7 separate regions of the Homo sapiens genome follow, and all the other regions are linked to region 1. Evidence: promoter capture Hi-C in 16 types of primary human blood cells and fetal thymus (Javierre and others, 2016). All regions are on one chromosome and are shown on one strand. The core of a region is centred on a gene start or on the middle of the fragment in contact, and the rest is flanking DNA. Distances in the headings are between cores, read along the strand shown. Region 1 holds the start of PDPN (podoplanin). Region 2 has its middle 340 kb from the start of PRDM2. Region 3 has its middle 270 kb from the start of PRDM2. Region 4 has its middle 250 kb from the start of PRDM2. Region 5 has its middle 230 kb from the start of PRDM2. Region 6 has its middle 200 kb from the start of PRDM2. Region 7 has its middle 180 kb from the start of PRDM2.

Region 1 (2,566 bases), core at 46-2,545:
TCACGAGTTAGGTTACAATTCCTTCAACCAACATTTAGTGAGCAACTACTATGTGCCAGGCATTGTTTTGGCCGTGGGGAATCATGGCTGGATGTAGCTGCGTCCTGCAGAACATATGTTCTATTGAGGAAATATAAAAATAAAAACCCAAGAAAAGAAAACAAAATGTTGACAGATGTCAATGGAGACCACCAACACAGCAACCCAGCGGGAAGAGGTAAGGCTCCAGGAGAGGACAAAGGGTAATGGAAGCTGTGGACGCCCCCACCCCAACATGGGATACAAAATATTTAAAGCCTAAGGAGTCACCAACAGACATTCAGCCACTGATGTTGTTGCCCAAGATGAACACGTGGCTCAAACCCACTTAAACCTCAATGTTCGTAACGCGTAACAATCCTCATGCACTCACACTCCTCGGAAGCCTCCACTTGGATCCTTTCCACACACACTATCCTCTCTAAAGAGGATAAAGGAGGCCTCTTCCAGTCCAGTGACGGGGTGCTGAGTGTGTCCAACAGGCAGGGCGCCAGACTAGGTAGTCCCAAGGGGGACCAGGGCCACCGCAGGGCGGGGAACCCTCCCCTTGGCCCAAGCCCTCCTGAACGTCCCTCCTGATTCTACGAGGCCAGCTTCTCCCGAGGCGTGCGTATTCCTCCAACACACCGCTCTATGGGAAGGAAACCCCAGCCACTGCTGCCAGCAAGCGGGGCTGCCTACTGTGAACCTTCCACCCGATCTCTCTGGTGCTGCCGACTCGGAGGGAGGCCCCCTGTGCTGCCCACCTCGCAGCCTGTGGATTCCGGGGCTCCTCCCGGCACACCCGCGCAGCTGCGTCTTTGGGACCTGGCACCGACTAAGCCGCTGCCTCTCCTCCTCCGGCGCTCAGCCGCCTGACACGCACACACCCTCAGCTCCCCCGCGCTCCCCTGGACAACCTCGAATACCAGGCCCGGGCATTCCAGCAAGTCTCTGCTCGCTCGTCCCCATCAGCGACGGCAGGAAGCCACTTGCGCTGGGTCTTACCTCCTTCTGCCAGGACCCAGAGCGACGCGCTTCCCAAAACGAAGAGCAGAGCTGACACCTTCCACATCGTTCCCGTTGAGTTGTTGCTCTCCTGGGGGCCGAGCAGCAAGATTCTGAGCTGGGGGAAAATTAAAAAGCACCGCGGCCACAGGCCCAGCCTGGAGGAGCGCGACGGTGGGGGGGCCGGAGGGGTGGGAGCAGGAGCCCCGGAGAGGGAGGGTGCCCGAGCTTCCCAGACCCTAGGCAGCCGGACAGCAAACTTTGCAGTTGAGAACTTTCCGAGCGGAGTCAGCATTTATCTCTCCCGAGGAGGCGGGGGAGCGGGGTCGGCCGCAAGGTGGTCTCCGTCCGGGCGCGCTAGGCCCGCCCTCGGGCTCTGTTTGGCCGGCGCCAAAACGATGATCTCAGGCCAGGTTTAAAGTTACAGGGCCGCAGCTGCGGGGGCCGCCAGGACTGCGGGCCCTGGCAAAATGGGCTTTTATTCTGCTCAACAACAGGAGGGAAAGGGACCACATGCAACAAACGGGGTTTTAAAAATTATATATAAATTTTAAAAAACCTATATTTATTATTATTATTTTTTTAAGAGTAAGGCACAAGTCTATGTTTTTCTTGTTATGGGCAGAAGTGAGAAGTAAACTGTTTCTTGAGTGGCCAGTAGTTTTAGAACCAAGCATGGGGTTTTTCCTGTAAATATTGAATTTGATGGCTTAAAAACAAAAAAAGTTGGCCGTCATCTGGGTGGGCCAGAGGCGGCCCGCGCTGGTCAATTGCGCCCTTGTCCCGGGGACCGGAGCGGGCGGGCTCCGGGGGGCTGCCCCAGAGCTGGCTGGTGGGGGAGTTTGGCAGACCGGGTGGCTTTGGCAGTTTTGAAAAAGAGGCTGAACTCCATCCGCCTCTGCCGACCCGGGGATCCAGCGCTGCGATGCTGTGGCCCACCGACGTGCGCAGTTGGATTAGGCCGGGCCAAGCGGTGACCCGTCTGGTCGCCAAACCTGTGTCCCCTTCCAGGCCTGGTTCACCCTCTTTATTCCTGAGTTTGCTCCCATAATCCTCACTTTACTGGTTTAAGCGATCTTGCCTTGATCTCAGGTACCAGATATCAGCAACCAGAGAACTTACGTCTTTTACTTTAATTCCTTCTGAATTGCTGGAATTTAAAAAAATAAGAACAGGAGTTTGGGAAGTGGTCTCTGCTCCACTCCCAGATGCCACAAATTCCATTCAACAAAAGAACCTGAAGACTAACGCTGTCTCAAAGCTCCACATTGCGTGAAAATTGTTTTCAGATGCTTATCTTTGACCCCTCCCCATTATAAATTTACTTTCTAAGAATCACAGGAGAGATTGTTTTAAATAAATGCCCAGTTTCCTGGGTTCCACCCCAAACTCATTAATCAGACCTTTTCGGAATTCCTATTTTAAACCAGTGTCGCTGGAGAACTTGTCCCCATGAACATTTGGCAAACCTTGCCCTTCATCATAGCTTCTCAGCCAGATCTACCTGGGGCACTGGTTATGCAGGTGCAATTCTGTTGTG
Region 2 (2,566 bases), core at 31-2,530, 450 kb before region 1:
ATGCATGGAAGTTAACATAAATCAATTAGTAAAATGCTCAGGCAGCAGCGATTGCTAAACTATACTGTGTAAATAAAAGTTTTAAATATAAAACATGATGATCAAATCTATTAACCATGCTCAGCCCTGCCAAGCTCTACCGTGACCTTCAGCAGCAGAATTTTCAGCTGTCACTCAAAGCCCACTGCCGACTCATGTGGACAATCTTGCATTGCTAGATGTTAGGGTCGTCTCAGAACTTAACCCCAAGTCCCATCTTTAATAACAATGACAAAGTGCATCGATACAGCACTTGACAATTTGCCAGCCTCTTTCAAACACTTTATTGGTTGACTTGGTCCTTGCTGTATGCCTTGATAAGAGGGCAGCTCATAGGGAGACCGTGGAGGCAGACGTAGAGAGTGGAAGTCTTGGCTCTGCAATTTACCATCTTGTCTGGAAGCAGGCAACTTAATTTCAGGGTTAGATACGTTGTTCTCAAATAGCTATTACTTTAATTCCTACTTTTTTTTTTTTTTTTTTTGAGACAGAGTCTCACTCTGACGCCAGGCTGGAGTGCAGTGGCACGATCTTGGCTCACTGCAACCTCCTACTCCCTGGTTCAAGTGATTCTCTTGCCTTAGCCTCCCGAGTAGCTGGGATTACAGGCACACACCACCATGCCCAGCTAATTTTTTGTGTGTGTATTTTTAGTAGAAATGGCATTTCACCTTGTTGGCCAGGATGGTCTCAATCTCCTGACCTCATGATCCACCTGCCTCAGCCTCCCAAAGTGCTGGGATTACAGGCATGAGCCACTGCGCCTGGCCTTTAATCCCTACTTTTACAGAGGTGAAACTGAAGCTTAGAGAGTGAGTTATTTGTAAAGGGAATTGGAAAAACGGATTCACACCCAAATCTATTTATCTCATTTTCAACTCCATGCTTCGCTTTGCACTGCTTCCATGGATTCCTGAACCCCCTGCAGCTTCATCACAGGTATGACCTAAGGCAAGGTTTCCTGTGTCCTTTGAAAGGCAGAGACCCTGCACCCCTCCCGAGGACTCTCTTCAGTGGAGCCCAGGGAGGAAGGCACTGGTGTCTATGGTTGTCGCTCAGCTCCCAGCATCCCACTTTCATGACCCAATTGCAGTCCTACAGTGAAAGGTATATTGAAAAGGAGGGCAACCTGGAGCCCTGCCCTCAGACCTCATTTCCTTTTGCTCTCCCCCAGGCTTATTCTTCTGAGGTCACCTGTCCCAGGTGCTGTCCTTTAAATGTGCAGGATGTTCCTGCATAAGGCCTTTGACCTGGGGGCTCCCTTTGTCTGCAACTTTCTCCCTCCAGAGAACCATATGGCTAACTTCTTCACTCTCCGAATCATCCCTCAAGGGTTAACTTCTCAATGATGTCTGACCTCACCACCCTACTTAAAATCACAACTGCACCTGCCCCACCCAGACCCCCAGATCCCTTTCCTGCTCTGCTTTACTCATATCCTTTAGTACCTTCTAAATACTATGTAACTTACTTGTGCTCATAGAGTATTGCTTGTCACTTTTGTTCACTGAGGGTCCTAGGTGCCTAAAACAGAGCCTGGCATATAGGAGGTGCCCAACAAACCTTACTGAACAAATAAATAAGTGGATGGATGGATGAATGGATGAATAGATGGGTGGACAGATGGATGGATGGACAGGTGGGTGGTTGAGTGAATTTAATCCCTTCCTTAAGCTTTGCAGGTAGCCAGCCTCTCACCCCCTAAAACCCAAAGCTTTCAGGGTTCTACATATGCACCAGTGCAGGCAAGCAATGCGTCCTAGGCTTTTAGTAAAGCATGGGCCCATTAGAGAGCAGCCTAAACAAACCCACTGGTGCAGAAACACTATTCTACTCAGCCAAAGTCTGCAGGGTGTGGACACAAATGAAGAAACCAACTCAGGCAGCACGGCTGGGAGACTTCAGAGGCTTAATTGAACCCCATTTCTTCATGATGTAGGCAGCTTATTTGTGACCAGGCTGCCACCAAGCCAAATTTACTGTGACATGCTGACAGCTGCTTCTGTGCTGGAGTTCTTGAAAACAGCTGGAGGAGAGGAACAGATACTTCTAAATCAAAGGTTCTTTCTCCCCGCAAGCCACACGATAGCTGCTGCCTGAGGAGCTGGGCTGTGCACATCAGGACTCAGGGTTCTAAATTTGGTCCCTATTCCTCCACTGACCAACAAGGGAGGTAAGACAGAATCAACAGAAAGGAAGAATAGCTTCAGACAAGAGTCAGTGCAGAGATTTCTCCGCTTTATACGAAAGCATCAGAAATGCTGTTTCTACACTGGTAGGGGATAGCTTTAGGTGAATTTAGAGAGGTAAGAGGCAAACACTTTGAGTAAGGGCAAACGGAGAGGGCAGCCTGTCATGCAAATGGAATGTCTAGCAATAGGCAGCTGGATAAATAAATGATCATGCATCTTAACAAGGAACTGCCATGTAGCCATTAAAACTAGTATTGTAGAACTGTATTTACTGGCATGGAGAGAGGTCTATGATGTATTCAGTGGAAAAAGTGGGCTATAAAATAATCCCACCC
Region 3 (2,566 bases), core at 18-2,517, 390 kb before region 1:
AATAATATATAGGGAAATAATGTTTCTCCTTTGTGATTACATTACCATATGGAGTAATTTTTCTTGACAAGGAGGTCATTTCATCTGATGAGTTCTTGAACAGTGAAATGGAAGCTTGGTTCTATGACAGCAAAGGACAGATTGACTTATTAAAACCGTTACATTACAGATTTTTATTAGTCGATTTCCCATTTGCTCTCTTTGAAAATCAAAAGCATGGATGCATTTGGAAAGTCCATCAGAAAATATTAAGAATAAAAATTAGACAGAATGGTCATTATTGTAAATGGAAAAATCATCTGAAAACTAAGGATTCTAGAGGCCAACTTTAAGAATTCTCACGAAGACATTATTTGGAGAGCAGAACAGATGGGGTATATTAATGGAAGAACCAGCCTCACAAGATAAACAGCCAAAGTTTTAGAAAAATCACCCAGGCATCTGAATTCAAGGCAGGGTGCAATGGACTGAACAAAATTAATTGTCCTAGACACCAAAAACACAGAGGAAAAGTGGCCTAAATCTAGGAGAGACTTCCAAAGCACTCTGAGAAATGTTGCTTTACTTTTTCATCAAAACACCTTTCAGAAGCTGGGTTTACTATGCGTGTACTCATATTTATTCCTTTTGATTCATTCATTCATTCATTCATTCAGCAAGCCTTGACTGACCCCATCAATGTGCCAGGACCACAAAAAACATCATGACGTGACTCGTGTTCCCGACTAGTTCATGATCTGGTAGGGGAGACAATTGAGTCAATACTATCTACCTGCCGGTGTGTTAAGTTTTGTTTAAGGAAATGTATGGCTCATTCATCCACTCATTTGATCAATATTTGATGAGTATCTATTCTGTTCTAAGTTTTTACTCAGCACTGGGGACTCAAGAGCATGTTTGGGTAGCTATAATTTAACAGACATATGATAAACAAATACATAGAGAAAGTCCAATTGTGTTTCAAGTTGCAAATTAGGCACATGCAGCTCTTTTCCGCTACACATGGTTCTAAGTGCAGAGGAAAGAGTCGAGCCTCTGAAGCATCACCTCTCAGCCCACTGATATCTGAAGCTCCTTTCTCACTCAAAGATACTCTTAGAATAAAGAGACCTTTTTTATATGCTTGGTATGGGCTGTGATGAAGTAACCAAGTGTTCTGAACAGTGGCCTTGAAGTGCCTCACAATCAAAGGCCTCCCCAGGCCCCACTCCTGCCTTCTGAGTAATGACAGAAAGTGCCAAATTCGATCCAAATACATGTGGAGGCAGGGGTGGGCAGCTGACTCAGCCACCACCCTGACACACTCTATGATCTGTCTTCCTACTGTAGGCTCTCAACGTAAAATCTCTAAGAGCAGAGTCCCCATCTGTTCTTATCACTCTACACCCAAAATCCAGCACAGTGCCTAGAACATGGAAAGTGATCAATAAATACATGTTAAATGAACAACTAGAAAACAACATAATTAGGATAAGAAAAGTGCTATAAAAATAAATAGATCATCTGATAGCAAATTACACTGTAGGGAAAGGGCGGATATAAAAAAGAGTTAACAAAGCAGTCTTGAAGGTCTGTGTGAGACCTCCAGGGTATCTAAGGTTTACAAGGTTGGCCCTTGGCTGGTGTAGTGGTTTTCTGGGGCTGCCATTACAAACTGCCACAAAATAGGTGGCTTAAAATAACAGAAATTGACTCCCACACCGTTCTGGAGGCTGGAAATCCCAAATCCAGCAGGACCTTGCTTCCTTTGCTTCCTCAGGGAGCTCTAGGGGAGAAACTGTCCCTTGCCTCTTTCAGCTTTTGGCAACCCCAGGCATTCCTTGACTTGTGGCAGCAGCATTCCCATCTCAGCCTCCATGGTCACATTGTCTTCTCCTCTTCTGTCTGCCAAATTGTTCCTTATAAGGGATACTTGTCTCTTATGAGGACACTTGTCACTGGATTTAGGTCCCACCCAGATAATCCAGGATGATGTCTTCATCCCAAGATCCTTAATTAATTACATCTGCAAAGACCCTTGTCCAAATAAGGCCACATTCACAGCTTCTGAGAATTCGATGTGGGCAGATCTTTAAAGGCACCATTTTTCAACTCACTACAGCTGGTATCTGCCAACTTACATCTTAAACAGTTCCCTACACTGATATAAACTTTCCCTAAATGATAAGAGTGGCCCATTATGCCTAGATTGTTTGTACAATGTGGTTTATTCTAGGCAGCTGCTTGTTCTTCTGGGTCTGGAGTTTTGGTACATGCTAGGCAGAGAAGATCTACATAACCAGCCCCCATTAAAAACACTGGCAGTGAATCTCTTACAAATTCCTGGTTTGATAACATTTCACACACATTGTCACAATCCAGTGTTGGAGGATTGACACACATCCCATGTGACTCCCCTGAGCGAAGCTCCTGGAAGCTTGTGCCTGGTTTCCACCAGACTTTGCCCCATGCATCTCTTTCTTTGGCTGATTTTGCCTTGGATCATCCTAGTCCTAGCTGTGAGTATGACGATATGCATAGTCTTAGGAATCCTCCTGGTGAACCAACAGACCTGTGGGTGGTCGTG
Region 4 (2,566 bases), core at 49-2,548, 360 kb before region 1:
GTGTCAAGGAAGGGACCAGGTGGGAGGTGATTGGATCACGGGGGCGGTTTCCCCCATGCTGTTCTCATGAGTGAGAACATGCATCTTGAGTCCACTCACGATTTTGCCTCTTGCTACCCGAGTGACCCTAGGCAAGCTGCTGAGTGAGTTCCCGTAAGAGCTGATGGCTTTAGAAGGCAGTTTTCCCTGCTCTTGCTCATTATCTCTCACCTGCTCCCATGCAAGATGTGCCTTCTTCCCCTTCTGCCATGATCGTGAGTTTCCTGAGGCTTCCCCAGCCCTGAGGAACTGTGTGTCAATTAAACCTCTTTCCTTTATGAATTACCAAGTCTCAGGCACTTCTTTATAGCAGTGTGAAAACAGACTAATACAGTGACCATGGGGGCAGAGATCAGAGGGATGCAGTCACAGGTCAGGGAATGGGACAGCCACCAGAAGCTGGAAGAGGCAAGGAACGGATTCTCCCCCCAAGCCTCCAGAGAGAATGCAGCCCCACTGATACCTTAATTTTGGACATCCGGCTTCCAGAACCATGAAAGAATGCATTTCTGTTGTTGTAAGCCACTAAGTTTGTGGTCATTCGTAACAGCAGCCACACACATGAAAATACACTACCTAATATTAAAATATGAGGCATCATTTACAGGGCTCAGGTGCAGTGCTAGGAAGTAGGGTTACGGAGTAACACAGATAAAGACAGTGTCAGGTGACCTCAGGATCATAATACCTTAGCCATCTAGCATCTTTGACACACATTACAGGGCACAAGCAGGTGATCATGACCCTTTTGGAATATTAGTTCAACAAGTGTTTCTTAAGGATCCCAAGGATTGTCCTAGGTACTGGAGCAGGGGACAGTTGTGAAACAATGTCATAGGGAATTTTTAAACTTCCTCGTACTCCCTGGAATTTCCCAATTTTCTACAGTGAGTATAACCATAATGATTAGTATTGATCACGGTGTCGGCAGACTTCTGTGCTCTTGATTCTTCTTAATCCTCAAATTGCTCACTTTATTTCTATTTTATGGATGGGGAGAAGGAAAAGTAATTTGTCCCAGGTCACATGGATAATAAGAGGAAAATCCCGTTTTGAAACCCAGGAAGACTGGCTCCAGAATCGCAACTCTTCGCCTCTATGCATTCTGTGATTGAGAAAACAAAAACCATGCTTTAGAAGGCAGCTGTGTGATGTTTCTCCTCTTCTATCAGTAAGACTGTGGTAAGCATACTAGAATAAAGGCACTTAAATCATGACATGAGGGATTCGGGTTAGCCAAAAGAATGCATTTCTTAATAGAAAAGCACCAGAAATTGCTGACCAGGGAAAGAATACAGAAAAGCTAACTCTGGGTTTATTTAAAAATAGGAAGGTAGTTTCATCTGTCTGAGTGACTCTCCTGAGGACTTGGAAGCCCAGATTGTCTAACCACTGCCATCTGGCAGTTCTTGGTGCTGGAGAGAGGCCTTTTTTGGAAACAACCAAGACCCATAACTGTGCTTCCTCAGAAGTCCAGCAATAGGGACTTGGGCAGAGAAGGGAAGCAGGCATAGGAGCCATCTCGGATGTTCTGAAAACCACACCACTGCATCTTCCCCAATTCAGGTGGCCCTTGCCAGAACCAGCATTCCAATATCCCAGTTCACCCCATCTACCAGGCACCGGCTTCATAAAAAAATGTACTAAAGACTTAGGTTTAAAAACATTCTCTCTCTCTCTCTCTCTCTCTCTCACACACACACACACACACACACACACACACAAACTGAGAGCAAATGTCATTTAAAAAAATCATCCTATGGAACAGCTGTGTTAAAATTCCCAACTATGATTGTGGGTACACTGTTAGTTTTACCATTCATTGCTATATATATATTGTGAGTTGATATTAGCAAAGTGCACAGAACTTTTTTTTTTTTGAGATGGAGTCTCACATTCCTGATCAATTCTAATTTTTTTTTTTTTTTTTGAGACGGACTCTCCCTCTGTTGCCCAGGGTGGAGTGCAGTGGTGCCATCTCAGCTCACTGCAACCTCCGCCTCCCAGGTTCAAGTGATTCTCCTGCCTCAGCTTCCCGAGTAACTGGGATTACAGGCATGGGCCACCATTCCCTGCTAATGTTGTATTTTTAGTAGAGATGGGGGTTTCACCATGTTGGCCAGGCTGGTCTCGAACTTCTTACCTCAGGTGATCCATCTGCCTCGACCTCCCAAAGTGCTGGTATTATAGGTGTGAGCCACCACGCCCAGCCTGCACATAAATTTTTTATTCATATCTTCCAGATAGTATATCTTTCAGGTGGATTGAGCCTGTTATTGTTATTATTATGAAATGTTTCTCTTTATATCTAGTAATGTCTTTTACCTTCAGGTCCACTTTGTTTTATATTTTTTAAATGACACTAGCTTTCTTTTGATTAGTGTTTACAATGATATCTCTTTCTCTCCTTTTATTGTAAATCTGCCTGTATCACATATTTAAGGGATATCTCTTGTAAGCTCATAGTGTTGGATTTTTTTCTTTGTTACTGAGAACATCTAGTCTATTTACATATAATTATTTATAT
Region 5 (2,566 bases), core at 24-2,523, 340 kb before region 1:
AGGAATTCAGGGAGATAATACACAGAGTGCCAGGTATATAACAAGTTCTCAGAGAAGCTGTTACTATGGTTACAGTTGTCATCATCAATGTCACCACTGTCATCATCATCATCATACATGATCCAGAAGGACCCAGCAAAAGGAAGTAACACAACGGGATCTCCACCCAAGTTTCTTAACTATATGAGAAAGCACTTTCAGGAGAACCCCAGGTATGGCACATTTTTAAAGTCACAGGCTATTAGTTTACAGGAACCTGATCTTCTCCGCAAAACCTGAGCAATGAAATTTCTGACCACTGCATACAAACACACCCTCTGCTTCCTCCAGTATGTGTAGCTTAGCTCTGTGGTTAACAGTTTCAGCTCTGAAATTGGATGGAGCCAAGCTGGAATTTCACCTCTGCCATTGACTCGGCTCTCTTTTCTGTTCCTTGAACCCACTGCCAGGCTTGTTCCCACCATAGAATCTTTGCAGGGGCCCTGCCCCTGCCTGGGATGCCCTCCTCCTTGATGTTCATGTGACCATATCTTTTCCATCACTCAGGTCTCAGCCCAAATGTGGCCCCTTGCAGGGCAGCCTCTGAGCACCCTGTACTTGTGTCTCTTCCGCTCCACACATCCAGTTTCCTCTCTGTTTCAGTTGCTATGCGACCTTCTAAATATCAGAATATGGATCTAGCTTTTGGATTCCCACTAAGATGCAAGCTTCTTGGGGCAGGAAACTTCTCCATCCTGCATCCACTGTATTTTCCATGCCTAAAAACATGCCTGGCTCAAAAGAGATCCTCCACCAAGAGCCACTGAATCAAAGAATGCAACAGTACCATTGGGATTTGAACATAGGTCCAAAGTGGATAAAAGTGAAGTTGGGATTTGGACATAGGTCTGCCTGGGACACAGACCAAACTCCTAACCCACCTCTGATGGTTCTTTGCCCAGCTATTCCTAACCTTGTCTTCTGATGTGATGAGCAGAAAAAAATACTTCCTCCTGCTCAAACCCTTTTAGGTGTCTGTAAACAGCTCCCAGGCCCCATTTTAAGCCCTCTCTGTAATGCCCCACTGTGCTCAGCTCTGTTTTATACAGAAAGTCTTCCAAACCTGCTTCAGGGTCCCTGTGTGACCTTCTAGTTCCTCAGTGTCTTTCTTCTCCAACTGCACTAGGACCAGGTTCATTCCAGGGAAGACACAGGCACCTTGATATTGTACTTCTATTAACAAAACCCAGGACTGCATTATTATGATCTTAAAAGATTTCTGAAAGGGCTTTATAGAACACGGAAATTGGGTCACACACAAAAACAAGAATCCTGCTTGATGAAACTGAAAATGTGACATCTCTTTTTTAGCATAGCTGCCACGCTACAATGACAGAATCTTGCATGAGGGTTTTCATGGAAAACAAAGGGCCGAGTGACATGGGATTTTAGGCACTTTACGACAAATGCATATTTAAAACACATATTTTTGCAGGTTTTTTTCTTTGAGCACCATAGCAAGGTTAACCTTTGAAAGGGAGCAAAAATCATAGATGATAAATGTTTCTTGTCTCCCTAGCTATTCCCTTTGAAGCCCTAACTTGGAAAAATAGCAAATATGGAGGATGCTATTTTAACTGTCACCCCAGTATCAAATATGATATGTCACTCCAGCCAGCATTTTGTCACCTTAAGATACTGATTTGTGCTTGGGAAAATTTACAGCCATTTATGGCTGTCATGCACTGAAGTTCCCAGGAGATTTTTTTTTTTTTTTTAACTCTTAAAGATAAATCTTCCTTTCTTATTTTCATTGCCTGGTTATTTTTACTCATTAATAACAAGGACCTGTAAGCTTCACTGTAATCAGGACCCAATGTCACTGGCTACACGTGTACATGCCTTTGTGCAAAGGGGACTTGAAAATAGGGAAAAGGCAGGGGAAATGTGGGAGGAAGCCATCGGGTGACTCAGAAACACAAGTGGAGACTGTTCATTGCTTCATTCTTGTCCTAAACATGGAATTCGAAAATTTCAGGGTAAGAAAAGAAAGCACCTCCAGCTCACATAGGCAGAGTTGCCACCACACTAAGAGTGAGCCCCTATTCTCCCAGCAGGGAGGTGCAGTGTTCACTGGTGGTCTCAGCCAGCCAGGGCAGACAGCCAGCCTGGTGTGTCCTAGTCCTGCCCACTCTGGGTAGTAACAGCACGGTGAGCCAGGGCATAGGGAAGCATGAAGTGCTGTCGGAGTCAGCAAGACCCCAACTCAGTTTGGGAGAGAATTGGTGAAAGCTTCCTAGGAGAAGTGACTCATTAGTGAAGACTCAAATGAGAACTAGATCCTTTGAAATGAAAAAAAACAAAGGGAGAGAGAAACCATTATCAAAACCAAATCACGCTCTGTCCCCCAACCACCCCATATGTGCCCCTCCCAAGTCTCTACCATCTCAGTCAATGGCCACTCCATCCTATGGGCCACCCAGGGGAGACCCTCATGGTCATTCACTCTTCTGCCCTCACTCCCCAACTTCAATCATCAGCAAATCCTCCAAGAACTATTTTTGAAATGGATCCCAACTCTATTTGC
Region 6 (2,566 bases), core at 28-2,527, 320 kb before region 1:
TACCCTCATATGAGTTGGGGTTCAAATTTATACTACCAGGGAATGTATGGAAATATCCAGCCTGGAAATTAACATTACCTACGGTAATAACATCTCACAGATAAAATTCCTAGAATAAGCTCAAAATCCAATCTTGCAAAGTGCATGAGGTAATAAGCTATCTTAGACATGAGTCAACAGAAAAGCAGAAGAAATGTACTCAGGAGTGCCAGAATTGGATTATAAAATTCCTTTATCAGATAAGTATTAATTTTAAATGATTAAATAAATAAAACATATGATCAAGAGCAAGAGAGACAAAGATTATCTTAAAAAATAATACCTGGGAGATTTGAAAACTATTCAATGAGAACTTCTAGAGGTTAAAAAAAGACATTCAATGAAAAATGAATTGCCTGAGTTCAGCTGAAGATTAGACACAGCTAGAAAGAAAATTAATGAACCAGAAGATAGTTTTTAAAGTCATTATCCAGAATGCAACAGAGAGACAAAGATGGAAAATATGAAAAAGAGTTCAAATTGAGAAGTCTAACACAAGTCACAAAGGAATTTCTAAAGGAGGGATAGAAAGAATGGGAATCAGTGTTCAAAGAAATAAGTAACTGAACATGAGTTACATGATTTGCATCTGAGATGCAAATCCTCAGATCTGAGAAGCACAAACCCCAGATAGGATAAATAAAATTAGACCTACCCCTAGCTACACTGTAGTGAAACTACAGAGCTTCCAGGACAAAGACTTTCAAAGCAAATCCATAGAAAAGAGAGATCACCTACAGAGAAATGACCCCAAAATCAAAGACCAACAGCAACAGCAGGAACCAGAAACAGAGGAACATCCTTTCCAAAATGTTGAGAGAAAATAACTCAACTTAGAAATCTATATCCAGCTGACATTATCCAGTAACAGTAGCCAAAATAAAACTAAACATTCTAGAGACCCAGCTGTGGAGGCTTTGCTGTAGCTTGTCCTGGCCTCCAGTGCAGATTGGTCTTGATCATGGATGATCATCTCAGCTGTGACTGGCCTGATCCCTACAACCCAACTTCTCCAACCTGGGAGTTCTCCCAGCAATACTTTCTGCTTAACAGGCCACAGGGTGTTGCCTATTAATGGAAGGGAGGAGGCATGAGGGGTTCCCTTCCTGAGATACTATTCCTTTTCACCTGTCTTAGAAGTGGCTATTTCCTCTGTGCTGAGGAAGGTGCATGCTGGCCTCCAGCATCCCAGGGCACCTCCTCGCCCGGCCTTCTGCCCCTCCATCCTCTGCTCCCTTGCCCTAGTCCTTCTTTGGATCCCTCTACCCAGCCTTTCAGACAACTGCTCCATGTTAAGCACTGATGACATTGTAGACCCTGCCTCAGTCTCCAAATAGACCTTTCCACATTTCCTGACACATTTCTGAGTCTACCATGTCTCTGTGCGGAGTGGTTCATGCCTCTCTAGAGCTCGCATCCCTTCCTGGAGACCTGTTGCTTCTGGTGCTCCTGACTGGGGCTGCAGTCACCCAGGGACTCAGAGGGACCCACCACATACATTCCTTTTCAGATTCACTTCTCACCATGGAATCAAGGTCAAAACTTCTGTCTTTTCAAGTAGCTAAGAGCACCACCCTCTTAGAGCTGCTCAAAATCTCTTTAAGTCTCTCCCCAGCAGTGGCCGTCTTCCTCCTGCCCATCACTCCTCTAATTCCCTAGCCTGGCAGAGATGAAAACATCCTCCTCCCTTTTTCCCTTTACTCCTGTCCCCAGACCAGTTCTTTCTTTAAGTGACCTAACTCGTCTTCACTATATGTAACTGGTAATGGCTTTGGGGAGATCAAAGAGAAGACTTCAAGTTTCAGGAAGTCCAGCCAAGTGGAATCTAGCCTGGCCACTCAGCCGCCATCATGACATTGTCTTTGTCCTTCGATGGGAGTCCCCCACTGGCTCTCCTTCCCTTTGGGGTCCGAGGCTGAGTCTCCCTCCTAGCCACACTGGCACTAGACCCTGTAGATGACAACAAAAGGTAAATGCAGGCACTAAAGAGGATGCTTGATATAAAGGGCCGACAAAAACGCAGTTACTTTTCAGATGAAAGTCCAGACTCCATGTCTGTTTCATCTAGCTCATTCCTTACATACTTAGAAAACAGATGTGATCTGAATTGGTCAAGGAACTAATGTCCAAAAGAAAAATGTGGTCCAAGACCATAAAACCACAAGTGGGTTCTTCATCAAGGTCTGAACATCATCGCCCAGAGAGATGGGTGGCTGGGAATGCCAGTACATCATTAGTATATAATTTTATATTTTCAAAGCATTTTACAGCAAGACTTTTATAATCTTCCCTACTCCAAACATCACATTGTCAGTGTTAAGACTTCAAATAATCCCTGATGCTTTGGGGTTTCCCACTGACCCATGTGGAAACCCACCTCATTTGCTTCTTGCCTTGTGGTTCCCATCACGGGCTGAGCCTTACTCACCCATGGCCATATCATGGGGACCATCATGGAGGTTTTGTTAAACCTACAGCCATTACATTTTATTCAGGAAGAATGGGAGGGAAAGCTTGTCTGTTTAAG
Region 7 (2,566 bases), core at 33-2,532, 300 kb before region 1:
ATACCAGCAGACACATCAAGAAGACACTAAAGGGAGTTTCTTCAAGGAGGAGAAAAATGAAGCCAAGTGGAAGCTCAGAGCCATGGAAACGAACAAAGAGCTGTGAAAAGGTTAATTGTGGCTAAGTCTAAATTAAATATAACTTAATGTTGACTATGAATTCATAATTACTAATGGTTAACATTAATTTATCTTATATTAACAGGTCAGTGATACACTGTAGGATTTAAAGTATATATAGAAATAAAATACAGAGCAAAAATAGCTTAGAAGTTGAAAGAAGAACAATGGAATTAAAATGTTCTAAGGTCCTTGCATTGTCCAGGGAAAAATAGAAGGATTAATTTATATTAGACATTAATAAGTCGAGGATACATACTACAATCTCTTGTATAACCACTGAAAGTTTATAAAAGCGTACAAAATCACCATACTAATAGGAAGGGAAAATGAGTATAAAAATAATCAATCCAAAAGATATCAGGAAAGGAGAGAAAAAAGAATTGTAAAGAAAGCTAGTATACTATGTTGCTATCAGACAAAGTAGACTTAAAAATTAAAAAAAAAAAAACCCAGTTCTAGCAATCAAAAACATCCTTCATAATAACAAAATGATCAATTTAACAAGCCTCCAAACATGAGCAAAAAATTGACAAACTGCAAAAAACTAAACCCAGAAGTGAAAAACTAAACAAAAAGCAAGCAATACAGAAAAATTGAACACAATTAACATATTGACTAACAGACATATATAATGGATCAGTTGTGCCTGACAAGTACAGCGTATACATTCTCTTCAGAAAAAAAAAAAAAACACAGAGAACATTACAAAAATTGTCCCTTTGCCAAACCTTAATTCACATCTCAAAAAGTGTCATAAGAATAAAGAGAATTTTTTTAATCTGATAAATAATTTGTATTAAAAAGCCTACAGAAAACATCCTTCACAACATTCATGAAATATTGAAAGCTTCCTCTTAAGATGAGGAATGAGACAAGAATGGCCACTATCATCATTTCTATACAACATTATACTGGAAGTAAAAGAGACAAGATTTGAGGTTTGAAATAGAAAAATAGAATTGTCACTATTTGCAGTTGGCATGATTGTGGTAGAAAATCCCAAAAGAAAAGTATACAGATAAATTATTAGAATAAACTTAGCAATGTTGCTACATAAGCATAAGGTACACGTTAAAATGTAAATTATATTACTGGATGTGGAACAAAATAAACTTTAAGAAACTATAACATTAACATCAAAATATATCAAATAACAAGGAATAAATCTAACAAAAAGCCCTTAAGACCACTCTACAGAAATCTATGAGACGGGCAGAAAGGAAAGGAACCTAAACAAATGAAGACATGCACCACTGAGTCATAGTTTGATGACTCAATGTTGTAAAAACTTCAATTCTCCCAAATTAATCTACACATTTAATCAGATCAAAATTTAAGCAGATTTTCTGTAAACATTGACAAGATGATTCTAGAATTTAACTGGAAAGGCAAAGGGCCAAAAGCTCTTGGTGAAGGCCACCAGAAATGAAGACTTGTTCCACCAGATGCTCCAGACAGATAATTAAGCTTCAGTAGTTAGGAGAGCATGGTATTGGGCTAAGAATACACAGAGAGATCAATAATGAGAATAAAGTGTCCAGAAGCTGACTCACTATTGCATTAGGACAACACCATCACTGCAGGGCAGCGGAGATGCTTAATGGCGGTCAATCAAGTGGAAATTCATATGGAGAAAAAAAGTGAAAGTTGACCTCCACTTTACACCATAGATGGAAGTGAGTTACATGCAGATTGTAGATTTCAATGTGAAATCAAAACAAAACTTTTTTTTTTTTCCCCAGACGGAGTCTTGCTCTGTCACCCAGGCTTGGAGTGCAGTGGTGCGATCTCGGCTCACTGCAAACTCCGCCTCCTGGGTTCAAGTGATTCTCCTGCCTCAGCCTCCCGAGTAGCTGGGATTACAGTCGCCCGCCACCACGCCCAACTAATTTTGTATTTTTAGTAGAGACGGGGTTTCACTGTGTTGGCCAGGCTGGTCTTGAACTCCTGACCTCAAGTGATCCACCCACCTCAGCCTCCCAAAGTGCCGGGATTACGGGTGTGAGCCACCACACCCAGGCAAAACAAAACTTCTTGACAGTGATAGAGAATACCTCTATGGCTCTGGTAACGGTGGGCGGGCAATACTTCTTAAACGAGACACAAAAAGCACCAACCATTAGGGAAAAGATTGATAAATTAGATATCAAAGTTAAGAACTTCTCCCATTTCTGTGACTAGTCTTTCTACTCTCTTATTATTGTCTCTTGATGAAAGAAAGAAATGTGTAACACCTATAACCAAGAAAAGATTCATATTCTCATTATAGAAAGAACTCCCCCAAATCAATAAGGCAAAAAACTCAGTTAAAACATAGACAGGAATGGATGCAGTGGCTCACGCCTGTAATCCTAGCACTTTGGGAGGCCGAGGCAGGAGGATTGCTTGAGTCCAGGAGTTCGAGGCCAGCCTACACAACACGGTGAAACCCTGTCTCTATAAA

The links. The method cuts DNA at HindIII sites, captures the fragments that hold promoters and counts their contacts. A CHiCAGO score of 5 or more calls a contact.
Region 2: a fragment that was not itself captured here is called in contact with the fragment with the promoter of PDPN in region 1 in 3 of 17 cell types (total CD8 T cells, naive B cells and activated CD4 T cells); the score reaches 6.7 in total CD8 T cells.
Region 3: a contact is called between a fragment that was not itself captured here and the fragment with the promoter of PDPN in region 1, in 3 of 17 cell types (naive B cells, total CD8 T cells and total B cells). The highest score is 5.6, in naive B cells.
Region 4: a fragment that was not itself captured here is called in contact with the fragment with the promoter of PDPN in region 1 in 1 of 17 cell types (total B cells); the score reaches 6.6 in total B cells.
Region 5: a fragment that was not itself captured here is called in contact with the fragment with the promoter of PDPN in region 1 in 1 of 17 cell types (total B cells); the score reaches 5.6 in total B cells.
Region 6: a contact is called between a fragment that was not itself captured here and the fragment with the promoter of PDPN in region 1, in 5 of 17 cell types (naive B cells, neutrophils, total CD8 T cells and 2 more). The highest score is 6.4, in naive B cells.
Region 7: a contact is called between a fragment that was not itself captured here and the fragment with the promoter of PDPN in region 1, in 1 of 17 cell types (total B cells). The highest score is 7.2, in total B cells.

Annotation. Positions count from the first base shown.
Region 1 is chr1:13,582,561-13,585,126 of GRCh38, reverse strand. PDPN (podoplanin) reads right to left here and starts at 1,295. Exons shown (of 6, transcript NM_006474.5): 1 at 1,027-1,295. The coding sequence starts at 1,093. RefSeq lists an enhancer at 854-1,392. The HindIII fragment of the contact is 6,524 bases long and covers 1-2,566 here.
Region 2 is chr1:14,037,127-14,039,692 of GRCh38, reverse strand. It overlaps a transcript of KAZN not described here. Among named protein-coding and RNA genes, the nearest start is that of PRDM2, 340 kb to the right of the region's middle. The HindIII fragment of the contact is 870 bases long and covers 846-1,715 here.
Region 3 is chr1:13,973,894-13,976,459 of GRCh38, reverse strand. It overlaps a transcript of KAZN not described here. Among named protein-coding and RNA genes, the nearest start is that of PRDM2, 270 kb to the right of the region's middle. The HindIII fragment of the contact is 2,302 bases long and covers 117-2,418 here.
Region 4 is chr1:13,944,877-13,947,442 of GRCh38, reverse strand. It overlaps a transcript of KAZN not described here. Among named protein-coding and RNA genes, the nearest start is that of PRDM2, 250 kb to the right of the region's middle. RefSeq lists a silencer at 385-617. The HindIII fragment of the contact is 5,257 bases long and covers 1-2,566 here.
Region 5 is chr1:13,925,844-13,928,409 of GRCh38, reverse strand. It overlaps a transcript of KAZN not described here. Among named protein-coding and RNA genes, the nearest start is that of PRDM2, 230 kb to the right of the region's middle. The HindIII fragment of the contact is 1,127 bases long and covers 710-1,836 here.
Region 6 is chr1:13,902,864-13,905,429 of GRCh38, reverse strand. It overlaps a transcript of KAZN not described here. Among named protein-coding and RNA genes, the nearest start is that of PRDM2, 200 kb to the right of the region's middle. The HindIII fragment of the contact is 2,554 bases long and covers 1-2,554 here.
Region 7 is chr1:13,880,692-13,883,257 of GRCh38, reverse strand. No RefSeq gene overlaps it. Among named protein-coding and RNA genes, the nearest start is that of PRDM2, 180 kb to the right of the region's middle. The HindIII fragment of the contact is 620 bases long and covers 973-1,592 here.